Linked DNA regions of Homo sapiens: region 1 is linked to region 2. The links are contacts of gene promoters, found by promoter capture Hi-C in blood cells and fetal thymus (Javierre and others, 2016). All regions are on one chromosome and are shown on one strand. The core of a region is centred on a gene start or on the middle of the fragment in contact, and the rest is flanking DNA. Distances in the headings are between cores, read along the strand shown.

What was found. Contacts are between HindIII fragments. The CHiCAGO score rates a contact against its expected background, and 5 or more counts as called.
Region 1: a contact is called between a fragment that was not itself captured here and the fragment with the promoter of CERS5 in region 2, in 1 of 17 cell types (M2 macrophages). The highest score is 5.1, in M2 macrophages.

Annotation. Positions count from the first base shown.
Region 1 is chr12:50,432,072-50,436,686 of GRCh38, reverse strand. It overlaps LARP4 (La ribonucleoprotein 4), which reads right to left. Exons shown (of 16, transcript NM_052879.5): 5 at 1,063-1,199. Among named protein-coding and RNA genes, the nearest start is that of SNORD133, 22 kb to the left of the region's middle. The HindIII fragment of the contact is 3,407 bases long and covers 47-3,453 here.
Region 2 is chr12:50,164,220-50,169,006 of GRCh38, reverse strand. It overlaps CERS5 (ceramide synthase 5), which reads left to right and starts at 1,638. Exons shown (of 10, transcript NM_147190.5): 1 at 1,638-1,906. The coding sequence starts at 1,710. LOC124902931 (a long non-coding RNA gene) reads right to left here. Exons shown (of 2, transcript XR_007063304.1): 2 at 3,384-3,981. RefSeq lists enhancers at 289-1,050, 1,102-1,261, 2,152-2,291 and silencers at 1,362-1,761, 1,862-2,011. The HindIII fragment of the contact is 9,101 bases long and covers 1-1,740 here.

The DNA.
Region 1 (4,615 bases), core at 501-3,000, 270 kb before region 2:
GAAATACTGATACAAGACACAAAATCCAGCAAAAATTCTTAAAGCTTCAATCAAGAAATAAAAATTCATTACCAAACTTCAGAGCAGTATTTGTCAAACTGCCCACAGCAACTCATTAGTAGGTTGTAAAATTAGAAACAAGTTTGTTACAAATATTTCGGTCAGGTGTAGGTATATGGTGTATATTGAACTGTCACGAAAAATGTACTTCTTATTTGGGTTTAAAAACTTGAAAGAGATTGTCTTAAAGGTTGTGTGATAACGATACATATCTAACACTCCAGAAAAATGAGACTTAATTGCTTATACTTCTTAAGTGGGCATGATGATAAACAACCAAGGTGCAGAATTATTACAGAAGCTGTATATAGGCCGGGGGTGGTGGCTCACGCCTGTAATTCCAACATTTTGGGAGGCTGAGCAGGATATATATATATATACATACACACATATACACACACACACACCCCCACACACCAGTCAGTAGCGGGATATATATATATATATATATACATACACACACACACACACCCCAGCGGGATATATACACACACACACACACATATCACACACACACACACACACCAGCGGGATACACACACACACACACACACACACACACACACACACACACAGAGTCAGTAAAAATGGGAAGCCAAGGTGGGAGGACTGACTCAGCCAAAGAACAAAGACCAGCCTGGGGAACATACCAAGACCCCACCTCTATACAAAAATTTAAAGATTAGCCAGATGTGGTGGTGTGCGCCTGGGGTCCCAGTAACTTGGGAGGCTACGAGGTAGAAGGATGGCTTGAGCCCAGGAGTTTGGGGCTGCAGTGAGCTGTGATTTGCACCATCACACTCCCGCTTGAGTGACAGAGTGAGACCCTGTCTTTCACCACAACCCCCGAAAAAAAAAAACAAAGAGAGAGAATTCGGAACAAAACAACAAAATAAGGGTGTGGGGAGGGGGCAGTAAAAATAATTCCCTATATGATCAGAAGTCGAAATAACATTTTACGTTTAAAAATTAAAAAAAAAGCTAAAAGGTATTTTTACATACATCTTAACACTTCAAGAATTAGATCAGGGTCTGTAGTCAACTTTTTTATTTCTTCCATGTTGGCAACTGTCCAAATTGGGATGAACTGATCACTATCCATTTGAGATATCAAGTAAAGATCCTTTGACAAATTTTCTCTGAAAAAACAAAATAGTCCTATAAAACAAGCAATTATTAAAAAGCATCTAACAAGAGGTATCTTACTCACTTTTCCTACTTTTTAAATGCATGGAAATAAGATTATTCTATCAGAAATAACATTAAACTTTTCAGTGAACTCTAAAAAGTTGTTAAAAGTTCAATTCAAAAGATACTAATGTAATATATACATAAACATTAGTTAATATAACTTTTACAGTATCTCAATTCCCAAACACATCTAGCACAACATTGGACAATTATACTGATACATAAAGAGGTTTAATATTACAAGTAGCACTTTAACAAAACATTACATATAGCAGAGTTCCATCTTATAAATACTTCATCAGTGATATTAGAATATGCATGATAAAAACTGTAGCTGAACTGTGAACTGACTCAAGAAGGATTTTCCATTTCTGTTTCTTTTTTTCCTGAGACAGAGTCTTGCTCTGTTGCCCAGTCTGGAGCGCAGTGGCGCAAACTCGACTCACTGCAAGCTCTGCCTTCCGGGTTCAAGTAATTCTCCTGCCTCAGCCTCCCGAGTAGCTGGGACTACAGGCGCCCGCCATCACGCTCGGCTAATTTTTTTTTGTATTTTTTAGTACAGACGGGGTTTCACCGTGTTAGCCAGGATGGTCTCGATCTCCTGACCTCGTGATCCATCCGCCTCAGCCTCCCAAAGTGCTGGGATTACAGGCGTGAGCCAGCGCACCCTGTCCAAAATACGTGTTTTAAATTATTTAAGTCAAACATGCTTATATAAATACACACATTGGCTGGGTGCGGTGGCTCATGCCTGTAATCCTAGCACTTTGGGACGCCGAGGCGGGTGGATCATTAGAGGTCAAGAGCTCAAGACCAACCTGGCCAACATGGTGAAACCCCGTCTCTACTAAAAATACAAAAAATTAGCCAGGCTTGGTGGTGGGTGCTACTCGGGGTGCTGAGGCAAGAGAATCGCTTGAACCTGGGAGGCGGAGATTGCAATGAGCCGAGATCACGCCACTGCACTCCAGTTGGGGCAACAAGGGCGAAACTCCATCTCAAAACATAAACAAAAAAAAAAAAAGAAAAATAAAAAATATATATTTAATATTAACACAAAAGATTCTTTAAGGTACATTAAAAAAAGAAGATGCAAACACTTGCATCTTACACATAAAATCTTGTTTAATAAACTTAGGTAAAATCAAATTCACACCTTGCTATTCACATCAAATATTCTTTGAAGCAGTCTGGCTATAAATAGCTGGAAGTTTTTGCTTATAAGGCCCCTTCTCAAAGAGTACTGTTCTGATCACCCTATTTAAAACTGCAACCACCCCAGCATTCCTGATTCCTGTCCTTGCATTTAATTTTTTTCCCATAGCACTTATCTCCTAACATACTCCTTATTTATTATGTTTGTTTTGTGTTCTCACAGTCAGAATATAGGTTCCATGAAGGATCGCTGCTGTTCAATCAATAATGTATTTCAACTGCCTAGTGCCTGGCAAGGAGCAGGCTCAAAGGCCCTTACTTTTACATTCTATTAAAATAGAGGCCAGGCATGGTGGCTCACACCTGTAAACCCAGCACTTTGGGAGGCAAAGGTGGGTGGATCACCTGATATCAGGAGTTTGAGATTAGCCTAGCCAACATGATAAAACCTCGTCTCTACTAAAAACACAAAACTTAGCCAGGCACGGTTGTGCGTGCCCGTACTCCCAGCTACTTGGGAGGCTGAATCAGAAGAATCGCTTGAACCCGGGAGGTAGAGGTTGCAGTGAGCCGAGATCGTGCCACTGCACTCCAGCCTACGCAATAGAGTGAGAACTCCATCTCAAAAAAAAAAAAAAAAGATATTCCTTAAGAATCTGAAAATAAGACAACTATAAACATAATTTTTGCAAAACTAAAAAGCTGTAGCCTAAATGAACTCTGAAATTTAGCAGGTCTATTCTTAAACAGTGATTCAACTCTTAGCTAAAGAAACTGTACCTTGTCAGAAGTAAATCAAATTAATGGATATAACATCTAAGATTTGATTATTCATGAGTAATACCTGATATGTATTAATGGCAATTTTGCTGAGCTACAAATGTCAATTACCCAGCTGGTTCGAACTATATCACAGTCCTGAGTAGGATGTGATGGATCATGACAAGTAGGAGCTTCCACTGCAACAACTAAAAAAGCTGGGATAAACTACAAAAAAAAAAAAAAAAAAAATCACGTTTTTGGAGATCTGGGAAAGCTGTGGAAGCTTCAAGCACAAAATGACTAAAATGCCCCAAAGAAGATCTTTCCTTCCTGAGAGCATTTGCAGATCTTGACTCAGACTCTCCTGGACAATAGAGAAACCAGCAGATCTCCAGGCAGTTGTGTATAAGTATGTGGTAAGTGTAATGGGCAAAGAACTAGAATTATGAATGGAAATTATGGGAGCCACCAATACAGCTGATTTTCCCCATAAGATGTTTCCTGAGTTTTAAGGAGGAAGATGGGAGATTGAGAGTCAGGCTGAAAAGACAGTAAAATCTATGTGGTCTCGTGATTAAGTCCCAGTGCAAGCAAAAATGCGGCAAACGCAAGTCTCCCCGATAAGACACTGCCAGCTTTTCTTTTTTTTTTTTTTTTTGAAACGAAGTCTCGCTCTTATTCCCCAGTCTGGAGTGCAATGGTGCGATCTCGGCTCACTGCAACCTCCACCTCCTGGGTTCAAGCGATTCTCCTGCCTCAGCCTCTCGAGTAACTGGGATTAGTAGTGCATACCACCATGCCCAGCTAATTTTTTGTATTTAAGTAGAGATGGGGTTTCACCATGTTGGTCAGGCTAATACTGAACTCCTCACCTCAGGTGATCCGCCTGCCTTGGCCTCCCAAAGTGCTGGGATTACAGGTGTGAGCCACTGCGCCAGGCCAAGACACTGCCAGATTTTCAAGCAGTATGGGGTAGGAAGTTAAAGAGCTAAATCTCAAACCTCTGTATTAGAGATCTAAATCTCCTTGGTTTTGTAAGATTAGGGTGACACAAAACTGCCAAGCTCTAAATCAAAAGCCTGAAAGGGCCATGTAGAAGGAATAGAGCTAAATCAAAGGTGAACTGAGTCCATTTAAAATTGTTGCTCAGCCCTGACCTAGCTCAGTTCCTGATTGGATTGAAGCAATCAACATATCACTCTCTGCCTAACAGAAAAAAAGCTCAAACTCTGTCTAGAGTTATATCACCTACATCTTCTATGGTTCTGTTGTATGTAATGTACAGCATAAAATCAAAATTTACAAGACATACAAAAAGGCAGTAAATTATTACAGATAATTCAAGAGAAGAAACCCAGACAATAGAAGCAGACCCATAAATGATCTAGTTAGTAGGTAAAATTCACCCAGGCTGGAGTGCAGTGCTGCAACCTCGGCTTACTGCATA
Region 2 (4,787 bases), core at 389-2,888:
CAAACATTGGCTATTTATTTTGTTTTGCCTTTAGGTCCTTTAGATATACTTTTTTTTTTTTTTTTTTTGAGACGAGTCTCACTTTGTCGCCCAGGCTGGAGTGTAGTGGCGCAATCTGGGCTCACTGCAAGCTCCGCCTCCCGGGTTCACGCCATTCTCCTGCCTGAGCCTCCCAAGTAGCTGGGACTACAGGCGCCCGCCACCATGCCTGGCTAATTTTTTGTATTTTAATAGAGATGGGGTTTCACCGTGTTAGCCAGGATGGTCTCGATCTCCTGACCTCATGATCCGCCCGCCTCGGCCTCCCAAAGTGTTGGGATTACAGGCGTGAGCCGCGCCCGGCCTTTTTTTGTTTGTTTTTGTTTTGAGACGCTCTGTTGCCTAGGCTGGAGGGCAATGGCGTGGTCTCGGCTCACTGTGATCTCCGCCTCAAGCAATTCTCCTGCCTCAGCCTCCCGAGTAGCTAGGATTACAGGCATGCACCACCACACCCGGGTAATTTTTGTATTTTTAGTAGGGACGGGGTTTCACCATGGCCAGCCTGGTCTCGAACTCCTTACCTCAGGTGATTCTTCCGCCTTGGCCTTCCAACGTGCTGGGATTACAGGCGTGAGCCACCACACCCGGCCTGCCTTTACGTATACTTTTTGAGTGCTTCCCTTTTCACTTTGTTTTTCTTCCATTTCCTTTTCCCCAAGAGAAGAATAAAAGGATTTTTGTAAACTTTTTTTATTTTTATTTTGGGACGGAGTCTTTGGTCTGTCGCCCAGGCTGGAGTGCAATGGCGCGATTTCGGCTCACTGCGACCTCCGCCTCCCAGGTTCAAGCGATTCTCCTGTCCCAGCTTTCCGAGTAGCTGGGATTACAGGCACAGCGCCACCAGGCCCAGCTAATTTTTGTATTTTTAGTAGAGACGGGGTTTTGCCATGTTGGCCAGGCTGGTCTCGAACTCCTGACCTCAGGTGATCCGCCAGCCTCGGCCTCTGAAAGTGCTGGGATTACAGGCGTGAGCCACCGCGCCCGGCCTTTTGTAAACTGTTAAGTCCATTTTTTCTGAGGAAAAGTGACTAATTTTTAAGGGATAAAGCAGTGAAAGTAGGCTGAGGTCACGGGGCACGAAGGGAAGAAAAGGTTGGGAGCGAAAAGAACTCTAGTGGCGGACAGTAGTGGGCAGGACCAGCTGACATCCAAGAGAAGCCCTGACCTGAGAGATCGATCTGGCCTCCGGGAGTGGAGACAGAGGTACCGCCTGGGTGGGAGCCGGAACGGATTCGATTCCAACAGGCTGAGAAAGGAGAATGTCCCCGTAAAGGAGCTAGGCCTGAAATAAGGGGTGTGGCCGTAGCTGGATGGAAGAGTGAGGGAGGAGTAGAAGCGTGGCCTAGACCAGCAGCAAAAGAGGGCGGGCCCAGGGCCGCCCGAGGCGTGGTCCCAGGGCCGGGCTGGGCGAGTCAGAGGCTCGGGAAGGGGCGTGGATCCCCGGAGGCGGTCCCCGGGTTGCAGTGAGGGAAGTGGGCCGGGAGGAGAGATGGGCGGTGAAGAGGCCCGGCCCTGCCAGGGAGGCGGGCGGATCCGTGGCAGTGACCAGAAGGGGCCGGAAGGGGGTGGCCGCCGGCCGGGCCCCGCCCTGGGGCCGCCTCCCCGCGGGTTCCGTTGGCTGTGGCGGCAGCTGACGCTTGTGGCGGCGGTGGCTTCGGGGTGGGCGTAAGATGGCGACAGCAGCGCAGGGACCCCTAAGCTTGCTGTGGGGCTGGCTGTGGAGCGAGCGCTTCTGGCTACCCGAGAACGTGAGCTGGGCTGATCTGGAGGGGCCGGCCGACGGCTACGGTTACCCCCGCGGCCGGCACATCCTCTCGGTGTTCCCGCTGGCGGCGGGCATCTTCTTCGTGAGGCTGCTCTTCGAGCGGTGAGAGCCCGGGAGCGAGCGGCTCGGGGGCCGGGCGCGGGCCGGGGGCGCCCCGCTGTGGGAAGGGCCGAGGGCCGGAAGCAGAACTGCAAGGAAAGCCCGGAAGCAGGGGCTGGGGGAGCTTGGGCCGCGGCGGGTGATGCTAGGCGCGTGGGCGAGGTGGTAGCCTAGATGGAGAAGGAGTTTGGGGCGTGGGCAAGAGAAAGAGTGAGGGTCTAGGGGAATGCTGGGCCCCTTCAATGTTAGATCCGGAGTTGGATTGGGGGGGTCATATAGGCCTCCTCCCAACCTCCAAGGGTCCTACAGATGAGGAAACAGGTTCAGTGTGAGCTCTGGCAGAGGCCCCGAAGAGAGGGATAGGAAGGGGCCAGGAGAACCAGAGCTAGTTGTGACCATGGAAGCCGAGGGGTCAACGCAAGGGCCAGACGTTCCAAGGGAAAGGAATGGACTCATCAGACTCTTAAGATTTGTTAGGACGCTTGAGTTTCCGAGAATTGGGGGGAACAGGATTAGTTTGGCCCTAAGAGTTGGTTTGGTATGTCAACTCATGCACGTTTGTTGGTAGGAGGGTAGAAATCTGGTTGGGATAGGGTGTGGTGGAGCCCTAGGCTTCCAAAGTAATGGAAAGATGTCAGATTAGTTGCAGAACAGGCCTTGGGGCCTGAAATGGAAGGAGGAGTGTGTTCGAAGGGATGGAGGAGAGCCACAGGGCTTTATCAGAGGACAGCTATATTGAGCCAGATTCTTTTTTCTTTTCTTTTTTTTTTTTTTTTTTTTGAGACAGAGTTTCGCTCTTGTTGCCCAGGCTGGCGTGCAATGGCACGATCTCGGCTTACCGCGACCTCCGCCTCCCCTGTTGAAGCGATTCTCCTGCCTCAGCCTCCCGAGTAGCTGGAATTACAGGCACGCGCCACCACGCCCGGCTACTTTTTGTATTTTTAGTAGAGACGGGGTTTCGCCATGTTGGCCAGGCTGGTCTGTAACTCCTGACCTCAAGTGATCCGCCCGCCTCTGCCTCCCAAAGTGCTGGGATTACAGGCGTGAGCCACCGCACCCGGCCTTGAGCCAGCTTCTAAATGAGTTTAGCAGAATTGCAGTATACTTTGTTCAACCACATGATTTCACCTTTAAGTGAATGGATCATATGTTTGTCCAAGATAAAGATATTCACTGAGGCTTTGGTGTGTGATATTATAATGTGAATTTATACCTGTGGGTGATTTTGATCAAGTCTACTCAGACTCCAAGAAAGGAGACATGTTTCTGCCATAGGCCTCAGGTAATGAGGGTGGTTCTTGGACATCTGTTCGTTTTGCCTTTATCCAAGCATAAATGATTGTAATGCAGGAATGCCCTTTCTAGGATGGGAATATGTTGCAGGTGAAATAATCTGTTAATTTCTGAAAGATAGCATCTGTTTGGGATTGCTTCTTTGATTTGCCTACTGTTTTTGACTCAAGTCTTTCAAAATCTTGTGTTCTATTTAGCTAGTCACGCATCCATTTATTCGTAGTATTTGTGCATCATCATCATCAAAATGCTCTGCCAGACGTTCAAGTGCAAAAATAAAGATGCTTAAGTGAAGCAAATGAAACCCAAAGATCTAAATGGCTTTCCTTGGCCCTCAGGAACTTAGTGTAGCAAGGTTTTTTTTTTTTTCTTTTTCTTTTTCTTTTTTTTTTGAGACGGAGTCTCGCTCTGTCGCCCAGGCTGGAGTGCAGTGGCGCGATCTCAGCTCACTGCAAGCTCCGCCTCTCGGGTTCACGCCATTCTCCTGCTTCAGTCTCCCGAGTAGCTGAAACTACAGGCGCCCGCCACCATGTCCGGCTAATTTTTTGTATTTTTAGTAGAGACGGGGATTCACCGTCTTAGCCAGGAAGGTCTCGATCTCCTGACCTCGTAATACGCCTGCCTCGGCCTCCCAAAGTGCTGGGATTACAAGCGTGAACCGCCGCGCCCGGCCTTGTTTTGTCTTTTTACGTGTAATCGTTGTAGTTAGTCATCCTGGAGTGGAGGCACAAACTGCTTGTCTGTCTTTGGAATAAACTAGATCCAGGTACTCTCTTCCATAGTCTCTGTATATGAGGGCCAAAAAAAAAAAGGAGGAAGGCAATGTAATCACTACAAAGGAAAATACACAAGTCAGGACAAATTTTTTTTTAAAAGGTGATTTTCATAGAAAAACATCTCTGCTTTTCATATAAATATGTGCCAATATGGAAATTTCCCCATGTTAGTGGTAAGAGGAAATAGTTTTGTTGCTTATAAACACCCATTTTATATAAACTTACGTATCTCTTGAGATTCCAAAGTGTTCCCTCAGATGGCTGAAGACATATATCCCCTGGCAGAGCTGCTGGAAGGGATCCTTTACCTGTGGGAATTCTATCTGAGTGTTTCTATGGTGCTCCAGTGTCAGAGGAGTACAGGTGGATGGGAATACTGAGCTGAAAGCATTCTAGTATGATAATTCTTGGCTAGTAAAGACAGGCACCTTGTTTGTCTCATGTTTGCTCTTAGGAAAGTTTAACCCTAGAAGCACTCTTGCTATTTTGTTTCTTTTAAGACCCATTACCTCAGTAATATAATTCACTGCTGACTTGCCAATTCCTCTTTTACCGTTCTGGTCTTCCATAAAGAAAATAGACCACTCCACTCTTATTGTTGTTTTTGAGACAGGGTCTCAGCCTCACCCAGGCTGGACTGCAGTGGCACGAAGCTCACTCCAGCCTCGACCTCTTTGGCTCAAGCAATCCTCCTACCTCAGCCTCCCAAGTAGCCAGGACCATAGGTGCACACCACTATGCCCAGCTAATTAAAAAAAAAAAAAAAAATTGGGAGAGCGGGGCATGGTGGCTCACACCTGTAATCCCAGCACTTT